4 separate regions of the Homo sapiens genome follow, and all the other regions are linked to region 4. The links are contacts of gene promoters, found by promoter capture Hi-C in blood cells and fetal thymus (Javierre and others, 2016). All regions are on one chromosome and are shown on one strand. The core of a region is centred on a gene start or on the middle of the fragment in contact, and the rest is flanking DNA. Distances in the headings are between cores, read along the strand shown. Region 1 overlaps LOC105369750 (a long non-coding RNA gene). Region 2 overlaps SENP1 (SUMO specific peptidase 1). Region 3 holds the start of H1-7 (H1.7 linker histone). Region 4 holds the start of CCDC184 (coiled-coil domain containing 184).

Region 1 (2,745 bases), core at 167-2,666, 150 kb after region 4:
GAGGGATGGCAGAGTGCTATGAAGAGCACAGCATTTGGGGCCAAGAGGCTTAGGTTCAAGCCTCAAAGCCATCATTTGCTAACTGAGGGCCCTTAGAATTACCCTCTCTGATCCTCCATTTTCTCCTAAGATGGGCATAATCTTATCTATTTACTACCTACATAATATTAGCCAGTTACTTCGCATATTGTAGTGAAGGCCAAATGGGGTTGCAGGTGTCTAAGCACATTAAAATAGTCACTGCATCAACATTAATCGTCATTAGAGCAAAGAGTGGAAGGAACGTCCCATAGCGATCACTAGAAGCTTTACAACAGCATCTTGTCCACTTCCCAGCCTCTAGTCTAACTCAAACATATCCAGGGAGTAGACCCCAGCCCGCCTCACTCTAATTCTGGGCTCAAAACTTAGGAAGGTCTTTCTGTTGCTGAAATAAACACTTCTTGGTCTCATGAACAACAATCGTTTAATTCAAGGCAAATTTCTAAAAGGGTTCCCTTTGCTTTACAAACACCACCTGACCAGGCCTGCAAGGGAAGGGGAACCATTTTAAGGGGCCCCCACCATGCAGGGCCGCTTGGTCACTGTGCTATCGATGAGGACATCATCTGCAAGATCACTGTTTTCCCTCTGGCCGTGGTTGGATGAAGCCCAGTGTGCTGTTCTCATTGTTTGGGCGCAGCATCACAGGCTATGAGTTGAAAATTGGCTCTCCTTGGACAGTCCTCAAGCACTACATTTTTTTCAGTGACTCTCACCAGACCCACAGATGAATTTACCTTCTCTGCGTATGCCTTTTGACTGGTTCTGTTTCAGGGAACCGCAAGCTCAATAAGCTCCACTGTTCTACCAAGCTGGACAAACAGCCACGTCTCTGTTCTCTTGGCCAGACCCTGAGGCCTGGAGTCCTGCCTTCAGGAATTCCAGAATTCTAGAAAGTTAGAGCTAGACAAGACCTCAGCCTTCATCTAGTCTTGCTCCAACCACTGTGCGGATGGGGAAACAAGGCATGGGCTGGGGATGACTTAAGGGGTATAAAATGTTGGGCTTTCTTTTGTCAAGCCCAGCATGTGCCTCCTATAGGCACCAGTGGTCTCTGCAAGTCCTGGCCTGCTGGCCTCGCAGCCACAGAGAGCTCGGACTCTCTCAGGCAGCTCACTTCATTGCTGGAACAATAGCAATGTTCTTCCTAATGCTGGGCAAAAATTGGCCTCCCGCCTTCCTTTAATGCTCACCTGCTTGTGCAGTCTCCAAGGAGAGATAGGTCTGGCCTGCATAGAACAATTGGAAATTAATTCATCCTTAAAGGAAGTGGAGCAGACTGTCCCAGGTCATTCTTGGGCAGCCTCTGCCATTAGATTGGAGAGAAGGCCCAGCACTCTGGGTCTACACAGACTCTGAATATAGAGACCTGGATTCATGTTCTGTTGCCTAAGAGCTATTAATACACGATGGTGAGCATGTTACTAACCTGTTTAAGCCTCAGTTTCCTCTACTGTGAAAACAGAGGTAATAGGAGTTTCCTATGTTGGTTCATTCTCCGTATGGCTCACCCATGATCCTAAGATGGCTACCTAGAGAAATATGGCTAAAGGAATGGGTCATTCCCTCTTGTCTTGCTGGCACCATACAACTTGGAGAACCTGTTCAGATATGCTTCCATAGATCTGCTCAACAGCCCCGGGAGGTAGACAGGGAGGTTTACTATTTATGGTTTACAGATAAGAGAACCAGGCTGGGAAATTCTAAGTGGTTTGTACAAGATCACCCAGCTAAAAAGCAGGAGAACTGGGACTTGAATCCAGGCCTCCTGAATTTGGTGACAGTGCAGACTTGCTCCGTGCCATCAGGCCTGGCTCCTGGGAAGGAACACTTTGAGAAGCCTTAGTGGGGCTTGGTCTCATGCCTCACCCAGGGCCTGGCCATAGTGGGTGCTCGGGGGACCTTTGTCTTTTCTGCCACAGCCTGAGCCAGAGTGGAAGCTGGGCTGTGCAGCAGAGCAGGAACCCAGCAGGTGGCAGGGACAGCCTGGCTGTGCCTGCTTTCTCCCTTGGTGGTGGGGACCACATGCTAAGCTACGTCTGTAAACATGGCCACAGCCTCTTTCTGATCCCTTGAGCTCTGTGTCTCTGCATACACGTCTCTTGGTTTTCTTTCTCCTTTGACTTCACTCTCCTCCCCACTCTCCCCATGCCCCTCCTCTGTCCTGGATTTGATCTTCTGTCTCCTGGCCTCCTTGTCTCTCTCAACATCCAGTGTTTTTTTCTCTTGTTGACTTCCTCTTTCCCTCTCTCTCCCTCAGTTCCTCCTTTGGATCTTCCTGGGTCGAGCAGACAAGTGAGAGGCTTCTGCCGTGCTCAGGGCAAGAGGCTGCTGAGCTGCCCTTCCGTCCCCTCCTCCCTCCCCACACATCCCTCTCCCTTGCCCTGGCCCCTCATCACCTTGGCTGGCTCCTCCTTGATGCATGGGCTGAGGCGAAGGTACAGGGAGGCAGTTAGAGCAGCTTCCCTGGATACAAAAGCTTCTTTCTACCCCTTGGAGATGAGGTTTCCAGGCAGGTTATTTTTATAGCAGGGCTCAGGCAGGATTCTTCAGAGAAAATAAACAAAGTCATACACACCAGTCCTTCACACCCTTCAGCCCCTTCCCTGGAGAGGGGCCCAGCCTAGCTGTGCCGACACAGGGACGCCCACCACCCCAGAGGGGCTGTGGGGGCTGCTGCCGGGATATCAAGAGGCCAGGGGT
Region 2 (2,736 bases), core at 114-2,613, 130 kb after region 4:
ACCCAGTATGTCGTTGCTTACTGTTGGGCAGTAGCTCACTGTTCTGGCATCCTGGTGTGTAAATATTTGTCAAAGAACAGGGGCATTTTCCCATTCCCCAAAAAGCATTCTGAAAAATGTGCCTGTTTTCTTAGTCATATTTCCAAGCCGTGGATCAGTTAGCCCATTCATTCCTTGCAGTTGACAGACACTGGCCTGACCTCAGCTGGCCACATAAAGTAAGTATGCAGTAACTTCCGGCACGATAACTTTCAAGTTTTAGTACCAAAGAGTCCTGGACCTAATGGAACCATACACAACATAGTCACTATTAGAGAAGATGTCGTTTCATTAACAAAGAATCACACATCTCCCCACTCAGCCATTGTAATTTCTTTCCACACTTAATATTGAAGGCATAAATGGAATCAACAAAGATGAGAAAGCTAACCATATAGATTCTGGGGTAGAACGTTATTCTTCATGTTTGTGACTTGACTTTAGGTCTCATATAAGGTAGGTTTTTATACTTCCATGTGTGCCTTTATATAAAGGTGACATTGCTGAGCTACTATCAGTTTACAGGTGTTTTTCCAGTATAATTAATGGCTTCTCCTGTCACTTAGTTCTACTTGAGACCAAAAGAGTTTGCCTCTGCAGGATGGGTTATTAAGTTGAAAAGGCAGTCTTTAACCATGGAGCAGAGTTTTCCATCTTTGTGTAAAACCATGTGGCTGTCATATAAAATTTGAGTTCTTGATTTTAACTTGACTAACACTAGGCGCTAACTGAGCTCAGTATCTACTTAAATTGCTCACACAGTTCCAGTAGATAAAGGTAACTGCTAATGTGCATTATTAAACTGCTTGCATGCCTTCCTCTCCTTTTCTGTAAGCCTCACCTTAACACCCCTGTCTTCCTGCAGTCTTTTGACCTAACCTTCAGTCTTCTACAAGCCTGGCCAGCGTCTGCCCATTTGTACTCCCAACCCCATAATATATATGTCAGCTTTTTCTCTTTTCACCATTTATAGCACTTCAGCCTTCCCCCTTCTAGTCAGAATTTGATTTAGAGAAATGAATCTGTTGGATGTTGAAGACTTAATTCAGTTTATTAGGAAACAATTACATATGCTATTCAACACAGCAACTGCAACTATTTTGAAAGGCTAGGCCTGAGTGTCTATTCTAATAGGTGTAATTTCTTCCCACAGATCATCAATTTCTACATGAATATGCTGATGGAGCGAAGTAAAGAGAAGGGCTTGCCAAGTGTGCATGCATTTAATACCTTTTTCTTCACTAAATTAAAAACGGCTGGTTATCAGGCAGTGAAACGTTGGACAAAGAAAGTAGATGTATTTTCTGTTGACATTCTTTTGGTGCCCATTCACCTGGGAGTACACTGGTGTCTAGCTGTGAGTACCCCTTTCATTTTTGATAAAATGTAAAAGCTATGTACTTATAGAACACACAGAGGGTAGTGAGTAGTAGTTCTACATGTTCCCTTGATTATTGAGAGAAAGAGTGTTTAGTAGTAGGTTGACTAAAATCAGATAGATCTATGAACTTCCTATCAAGATTGGGATGTAGATTTTGAAGAAAGCTGTGGAATTTCCCTTTCTAGAAATATTTAAAAGAGAGTTATAGGGTGTCTAAGCAGCCTTAAAGGAAGGCATGGGGGAAAAAAAGTGACTTATTAATGATGCTGCCACTCAGATTCTGTGACTGTTATTTTCAGCCTAATCATAACTTACCTTGCATACTTGGTAATTTAATATTTTTATGACTCTGTGAGCATTAGCTTAATGTGTTAATAAAACTATTTCACAGTCTGTTTTGGATTACATTTCAAAAGCATAAAGCCAAAAGGAACTTCTCAATATAAAGAAATAAAACCCAGAATCTGCTCACCATCTTTCTGAAACTTTGTGGAAGTGATTTTGAGATACTCACCTTATATTCCCTGAAAATCATGTAGTTTCTTCACTGTTGCCCACTTTGCAGAGGGAGAGAATGAACATTAGAAAAAGGCTTCACAGCAATAATGGGGCCACCTGTTGATGAGTGCCATCATAGTTTTATGTAAATAACCCTTCATTTTTTTTCTCTACAGATTAAGCATAATATAATGCAAAATATCAGTCAAACTTGTCATGATTTTGTAGGAAGTCTGGCAAAAGGTTCCAAAGGGCAGGGAAGGGAAAAACTGATAAACCGATTTTCTTCATCTCATAAACACAGAGACTTTTTTTCTTATTCTCAGGTTGTGGACTTTAGAAAGAAGAATATTACCTATTACGACTCCATGGGTGGGATAAACAATGAAGCCTGCAGAATACTCTTGTAAGTAGGGAGTTGAGGACAGAAGAGTTTGATATCGGGTATAGGTGGTGTTTTTCCAGTAATTGAACTCAGTTGTTTGATACCTTCAATGGAGTGATTGATAAAATCTTCATATTAAGTAAAAATGCATATTTTGTATCTAAGTAAGTTTAGTTTAAAAACAATACCAAAGTATGCCCTAATGGGAGCAATTACTATCCTAATGCACTAAAATGTAGACTAGATATAAAGATATAGATGCTACTTAGAAATCATTTAATCCAACCTCCTAATTTTTCAGATGAAGAGACCAAGGCCCACAGAGGTGCCTTTGATTTGCCCAGGTCCTATTAGTTAGTGGCTCAGGTGGACCAGAATGCAAATCTCTTTATGCTCCACCTGTTTCATTTTCCAAAATACCTATTCCTCACTG
Region 3 (2,922 bases), core at 130-2,629, 150 kb before region 4:
TAATTTACTGTCTTCACTGAACGTTACCACCACCCACCCCTTCCCTTCCAGGTGCGGCAAAGAGGAAACAGACACAAGGTGGTCTAGAGGTCCATTTCATTTCAATGAGTGTGACAGCCGCTCTTCTTGGGGCCTATGGGGGAAAGGCATTGGTCCGTGGTGGGAGTGAAGCTGCTCCCACAAGATGCATTCCCAACTGGATCAGGAAGACCTTCAGATTTAGGGGAGGTCTTTGTGGAAGTCTTTAGTGGAGTCTTCCCCTGCCCGCTAGATGTCCGGTCGGTTTTAGCCCGCGTTGGCTACTGGATGGTCCGCTGTGCGGGCTTCTTGGGCTCCTGCTTCTCTTCCCTGGGCTTGGAGCTTCGCCTCTTGTCCTTCCCTGACCTCGGCGTGGTGTCTTCCTTCACGGCCTGTCCTCGCCCCTCGTCTGCCGCTGTCGCTCCCGCTTCCTCCTTGGCTCTGGCACACGGCGGCTCCTTGGCTCTCGGCCTTGCCCTCCTGGTCCTCCTCGCCCTGGCATTGGCCTTGGCTTTCGCCCTCGCGTTCCGTCTCCACACTTCTCTGGCCTTCCTGGCCGCCTTGCGAAGGGGCTGGCGGCGCCTCCGGGAGCTCCGGGGCGCGGCTGGGGTCCTCCAGGGAGCGCGCGTGCCCTCCTCTTGCCTCGCGCGTCCCGGCTTTCTCCTGGGCTTGGGAACCTTCCAGACCCTGAAGTAGCCGGCGGCGTCGCTGCCGCTGACCCGGAGGAGCGTGGCCTTGGCCTGCCCCCTGGGCGCTTCGTGGCGGCCGCTCTTCCTGCGCACTTCGTAGCCGGCGTTTCGGAGCTCCTTCTTGAGAGCTGCCAGAGTCAGCCCTTTGTGAGTGGAGATGGCCTGGAGCACCAACTGGGACACTCTGAGCACGGAGCTTGAGCAGCCCCTCGATGGTCCCCCGACAGTTTTTTCCGCTGGCAGCTGAGTGGCTGAGTGTCCTCGGGATTCGCCACTGGGCCCAGGCGCCTCAGCCATGGCCCCACTCCCGCCTCTGCGGGGCCACCGGCTTTGGGCCTCACCAGTCAAGGCCTGTTCCATAGCTGAGGTAGACTGGGCCACGTCACAAAGGCAGGCCTGGCAGAGATTTTCAGGTCCTAATTATGGGGCTGGCATATCTCACCCGGGGAGGGGCCCTTTTCACTTATAATAACCAATCAAATGCCACTTCCTTCTAGGTCTAAACCAATCCAAGTCTTCAGCGCCTGTCCACCCCCAACAGTCACCTACCTATAGAGTCTCCAGGGTTTTGTTCCCAAATCAAACTTACTGATCTCGATCTCCACCGCTTTCTTTAGTCGGCTATTTTGTGTGTGTATGTGGTCCTGCAAACCATCTACCCACAGTTCCTTAAGGTGAGCGAAGCTGCTCCCAACTATCCAAAACAAGCAACACACTGCCTGTAGAAAGTACACGGGGTAGTCCATGAAACACAACCCAGATTAGAAACTCCCACCTTTAATTCCACCAGTCAGGTATCTGAAGTCATGTCTCCCTAATTCTACACAGTGGATTCTGTGCAAGAGCATGAAGTAAAAAAGGAACCAATTGTGTGATCCCTCTACCCTAAACACTGATTCCCACACCTGGGAAATTTAGATGACGCATTCAACTGTACTGAAACAATCTAGATTTCACATCGCCTGAGGATACTGGTCTAATCATTATTCTTTGAACATACTGTGTTTTTTTCCATCTCATCCCCTCTCTTGGATTTCTCATCCTCTTTGTCTGCCCAGATAAGTCCTGCTCATCTTTCAAGGTACTGCTACATTATCCTTCTTCACTGAAGACTCCCCAAACTCTTTCAAATGATTTCTTGCCTCTTAACTACCACAACCACCAAAATTACTTCTGCAATCTTATATGGCTTTTTCTTTATTTTAAATGAATTTGGCATTAGAGGGTATAATGTGACACAATATTTTTTAAAAAGAAAAAAACTCGTACTTGGAGCTGGAAGATATGGATGCATATCCTAGCTCTTTAGGAGCCATATGACATTAACAAATCCCTTAATATCAGTGGTGTGGCTGTCAGATGGATGTGCCGGCCATCTGACTTCTTATCTAACATCACATTCCCTTCCTACCAACATCACAGAATTATTGCAAAATTTCAGAAGAGGTAGATGAACAAGGGCTACCTAAATATAAGGAATAAATTTACTTTACTTTGAATGTTTCTGTCTTGTATTTCCAACTAAATAAAGATATCCTCAAGAGCTATAGTCTTTGAACTTCTATGTCCCATGCTGCACCTAACAATATGCTTCATTATACACAGCGGGCATTTAATTGAGCCTGCTTACATCATTCCTCTCTGGTGAGGAGAGTTTCTCTAGATTCAGAAAGAAACTTCCAGAAGATCAGGAGAAAGGAGCAGAGTGAATTTCAAAGGGTTGGAAATGAAGGGGGCCAAGTAAGGATTAGCTTATCAAGGACCTATTTTGGACACAGTTTAGTTGGGAATAATTTAAAGTATTATTCTAAGAATACTTCAAATTGCCAAGCATATCATACTTTTCCAGAGGGCAATCACATACATTCATCAGTCACAGGCTAGACAGTGACAGTTTCTTTTAAAAATCAAAGCTCCAGGAAGTAGCTTAGACCAGTGCTTTTTTTTTTTTTTTTTGAGACAGAGTCTTGCTCAGCCCAGGCTATGTAATGGCACAATCTTGGCTCACTGTAACCTCCACCTCCTGGGTTCAAGCAATTCCTGTGTCTCACCCTCCCAAGAAGCTGGGATTACAAGCATGTGCCACCACATCCAGCTAATTTTTTTTTTTTTTTTTTGAGACAAAGTCTCACTCTGTTGCCCAGGCTGGAGTGCAGTGGTGCAATCTCGGCTCACTGCAACCTCCGCCTCCTGGGTTCAAGTGATTCTCGTGCCT
Region 4 (2,742 bases), core at 123-2,622:
CTCCTGTTGTCTGGGAAGGGGGAAAGGACAGGATAGGGATGGATGGGAGTCCAGAGATGGGCGCTTCCTCTCCCGGAGCCTCACCTTTCCGCAGTTCGCTATAATTCGCTTAGTTGGGCAGAAAGAATTCTCGATGCTCCCAAAGTCCTTCACCCTACAAATCCTTCCTCGAGGGAGTCTCTCTCTGCCTGACCCACAAGAGCAGCTGTCCAAGTGAAGCATGCCGCACCGCGCCGTTCAGTCCCCCTCGCGTCATGCACTCGGAAACCCAAAGACAGCCCGGGAAGGTAGTGCCCCACGGAGTCCCCTCACAGGGAGGCCTCGCCCTCCAGTTGCAGCAGGGTAATGTCGGGCATGTCGAGGGGCTCCACAAGTGGCCCGTCCCCCCCAAGGAGACCAGCACAGGGGCTTTCGGGGCGCTCACAGTGACTGGAGGGTGTGGCGGGGCTGGGCATCTCCTTCTCTTCTTCCTCTTCCTCCTCGTCCTCGGGATCGCGACCCAGCAAGCCGCTGTCCCCGATCCCAGGCGAAGGAGTCTCCGGCTCTTGGGGGTCGCTCTGGAAGCTCCCCTTGCCGCCGACCACGCCCAAGCCGCCCTGGCGGGGCGCAGTGGTCATAATCTGGCACATGGAGACGATGGCTCGCTGGTTGGCGCACACGTCGTCCGAGAGCACCTGGATGTGCGAGGCCTGCTCGTCCAGGGCCCCCCTCATGGCCCTCACGTCCTCAAACAGGGCTTGCAGCTGGGCTTTCAGGTGCTCCATCAGTTCCTTCATGCCGCCGTTGTACTCCCCGGAGATCACGTCCCCCACTGCCGGCACGGTGGACACCTCCAGGGGCGCCGGCATGTCGCCGCCGTCCTTGGTCATGATCTCCAGCAGACCGTCCTCCATTGAGTGGCAGAAGCGGGTGGCGGAGGCTCTGGGTCGCGTCCAGCCCGGCCTCCGGGGTGGGGGAGGGGGTGGAGGGGGAGAGGTCCCGGGAGGGGCTAGCGGGAGCCGAGGGAAGCGGAGGCTCCCGAGACTGGCGGGGAGCCGACGTGAGAGACGAGTCCTGGGCAGAGGGCGCAGGCAGGATCGCGGGAGGCCGAGAAGAGGCTGCGGGACGAGGACCCGGCGAGGGTCCCAGAGCCGGCGTCTCTTGGGATCGCCCCGGGACGAAAGTGCCCTGCCCTGCCTCGCCTCCCGGATCGCGCCCGTGTCAGCGCCGCCCTCTGGGCGCCACAAGCAGAGAGCGCCTGCCGGTTCCGTGGGTCACAGACGCGCTCGCGGAGGGGTCCGCGTCCAGGCTGAGGCCAGCGGCGCGTCGGACTCGGGACTCCCCCAGGCCATTACCGGGCAGCGCCCGCGAGTGTGGCAGCAGCAGCTGGGGTGGGTCTCCCGGGGGTGTCGCGGATGCTCCTCTGTTTCCAAGGCGACGCACGGCACGTAAATGACGTGTGTCTCCATGGTAACCAGGAAGTGGCGAAGAAAAAGGGAGGATGGCTGGAAGCTGCAGTGGGGCTCTGGAGTCTGGACTAGCGGGGTGGGGGGAGGAGAGGGGACGCTACAGTGGCTTCGGCCAAGGCTGGAAAGAGCGTGTGGTCGCAATGTTTAATAGGGAAGTATGAGAGAGCCGTCTGCTGCAGAAACCTCCAAGTCCGGGAGAGATCGTCCCTCCCCTAGCCGGGGTATGAGACCCAGCGAGACTGCCCTGGAAAGATTTTTCCAGCCCGCATTCCTTTCTCAGAGGATGGCGCTAAAGTCGAGTCCTGCCTCCCTGTCCTCCAGCGATGCGCAGGAAAGCGGAGAGGGTAGAGAGGCTGTTGCTAATGATCCCAGAGTTGAGCTGGGGCACGGTGGCGCTCTGGAGCCGGACCCACCGGGCCTGACGGTGCAGAGGCAGGAGGAGGGCGCTACGGAGGTTTCTGCAGTAAATCAGCCCTCTAGCTATAGAAATCACCGGAGCGGGGGAAGGATGGGACTCCCTCCTTTATGAGACCCTACCGCTCCTACGCAGGTCTCTGGGAGTTTGTCCCAGATGGGGAGGCCAAGTGCTTAAGTTTTGAGAATGAAAGCTCCATAAGGGGAGAGATTTTTGTCTCCCCTGCACCCTCCATCACGGAATCCCCAGCTCCTAAAATAGTGCCTGGCACCTAGTATGTAGATGCTTAATATAGTTATTGAATGAATAACAAAAACCACCAAGTCCCACGCTCTCATCCAGAACTCCCCAAGCCAAACGTAGTGGGTTTTAGGAGACCTGAATTCAGTTTCGTTTCTGCCACTTATTCATTCAGCGACCTTGGCCACATCATTTTCCTCATCTGTTAGGGAATTGGACTGGATAATCTATAATACTATTTCTAATTCTGAATAACAGTCTGCATCATCTCACAGGTGAAAAGGTAAACTGTTGACCGTTGTGTGGAGGGTATGGATGGGGGGACTGTGTGTTAGAGTAATTCCCGCTCTCTCTTTCAGTGCCCAAGTTCAGACATACACTGAGTATCCCCAACCTTTGTGACAAGCCCTTTCCCTATTTAAGGGGTGGAGCAGGAAGGGTGGAGGAAGAAGAAAAATTGTCTTTAATATACGTAGATGATTGCAGATTGAGAAGGAATCAGCACCTGGGCAGAGCACAATAATTAATAATGACCCTAGGAAATTAGGGAAGCCAAGTGATCGGAAGCCAAAAATGAAGTTCATAAGAATAAATCTGGGAAAGAGAAACAAACTATATCACTTCAAGATAGAGAAGAAC

Evidence for each region. The method cuts DNA at HindIII sites, captures the fragments that hold promoters and counts their contacts. A CHiCAGO score of 5 or more calls a contact.
Region 1: a fragment that was not itself captured here is called in contact with the fragment with the promoter of CCDC184 in region 4 in 1 of 17 cell types (megakaryocytes); the score reaches 6.7 in megakaryocytes.
Region 2: a contact is called between a fragment that was not itself captured here and the fragment with the promoter of CCDC184 in region 4, in 2 of 17 cell types (megakaryocytes and erythroblasts). The highest score is 7.4, in megakaryocytes.
Region 3: a contact is called between the fragment with the promoter of H1-7 here and the fragment with the promoter of CCDC184 in region 4, in 4 of 17 cell types (M1 macrophages, monocytes, neutrophils and 1 more). The highest score is 6.1, in M1 macrophages.

What each region holds. Positions count from the first base shown.
Region 1 is chr12:48,029,615-48,032,359 of GRCh38, reverse strand. It overlaps LOC105369750 (a long non-coding RNA gene), which reads right to left. Exons shown (of 4, transcript XR_944904.3): 3 at 2,442-2,589; 4 at 912-1,271. Among named protein-coding and RNA genes, the nearest start is that of COL2A1, 27 kb to the right of the region's middle. The HindIII fragment of the contact is 2,215 bases long and covers 309-2,523 here.
Region 2 is chr12:48,047,589-48,050,324 of GRCh38, reverse strand. It overlaps SENP1 (SUMO specific peptidase 1), which reads left to right. Exons shown (of 18, transcript NM_001267594.2): 14 at 1,193-1,396; 15 at 2,245-2,324. Among named protein-coding and RNA genes, the nearest start is that of COL2A1, 44 kb to the right of the region's middle. The HindIII fragment of the contact is 4,419 bases long and covers 1-2,736 here.
Region 3 is chr12:48,327,437-48,330,358 of GRCh38, reverse strand. It overlaps H1-7 (H1.7 linker histone), which reads right to left and starts at 1,379. Exons shown (of 1, transcript NM_181788.1): 1 at 80-1,379. The coding sequence starts at 1,067. The coding sequence ends at 300. RefSeq lists an enhancer at 122-621. The HindIII fragment of the contact is 4,449 bases long and covers 1-2,922 here.
Region 4 is chr12:48,182,274-48,185,015 of GRCh38, reverse strand. CCDC184 (coiled-coil domain containing 184) reads right to left here and starts at 1,372. Exons shown (of 1, transcript NM_001013635.4): 1 at 1-1,372. The coding sequence starts at 893. The coding sequence ends at 309. The HindIII fragment of the contact is 3,853 bases long and covers 1-2,742 here.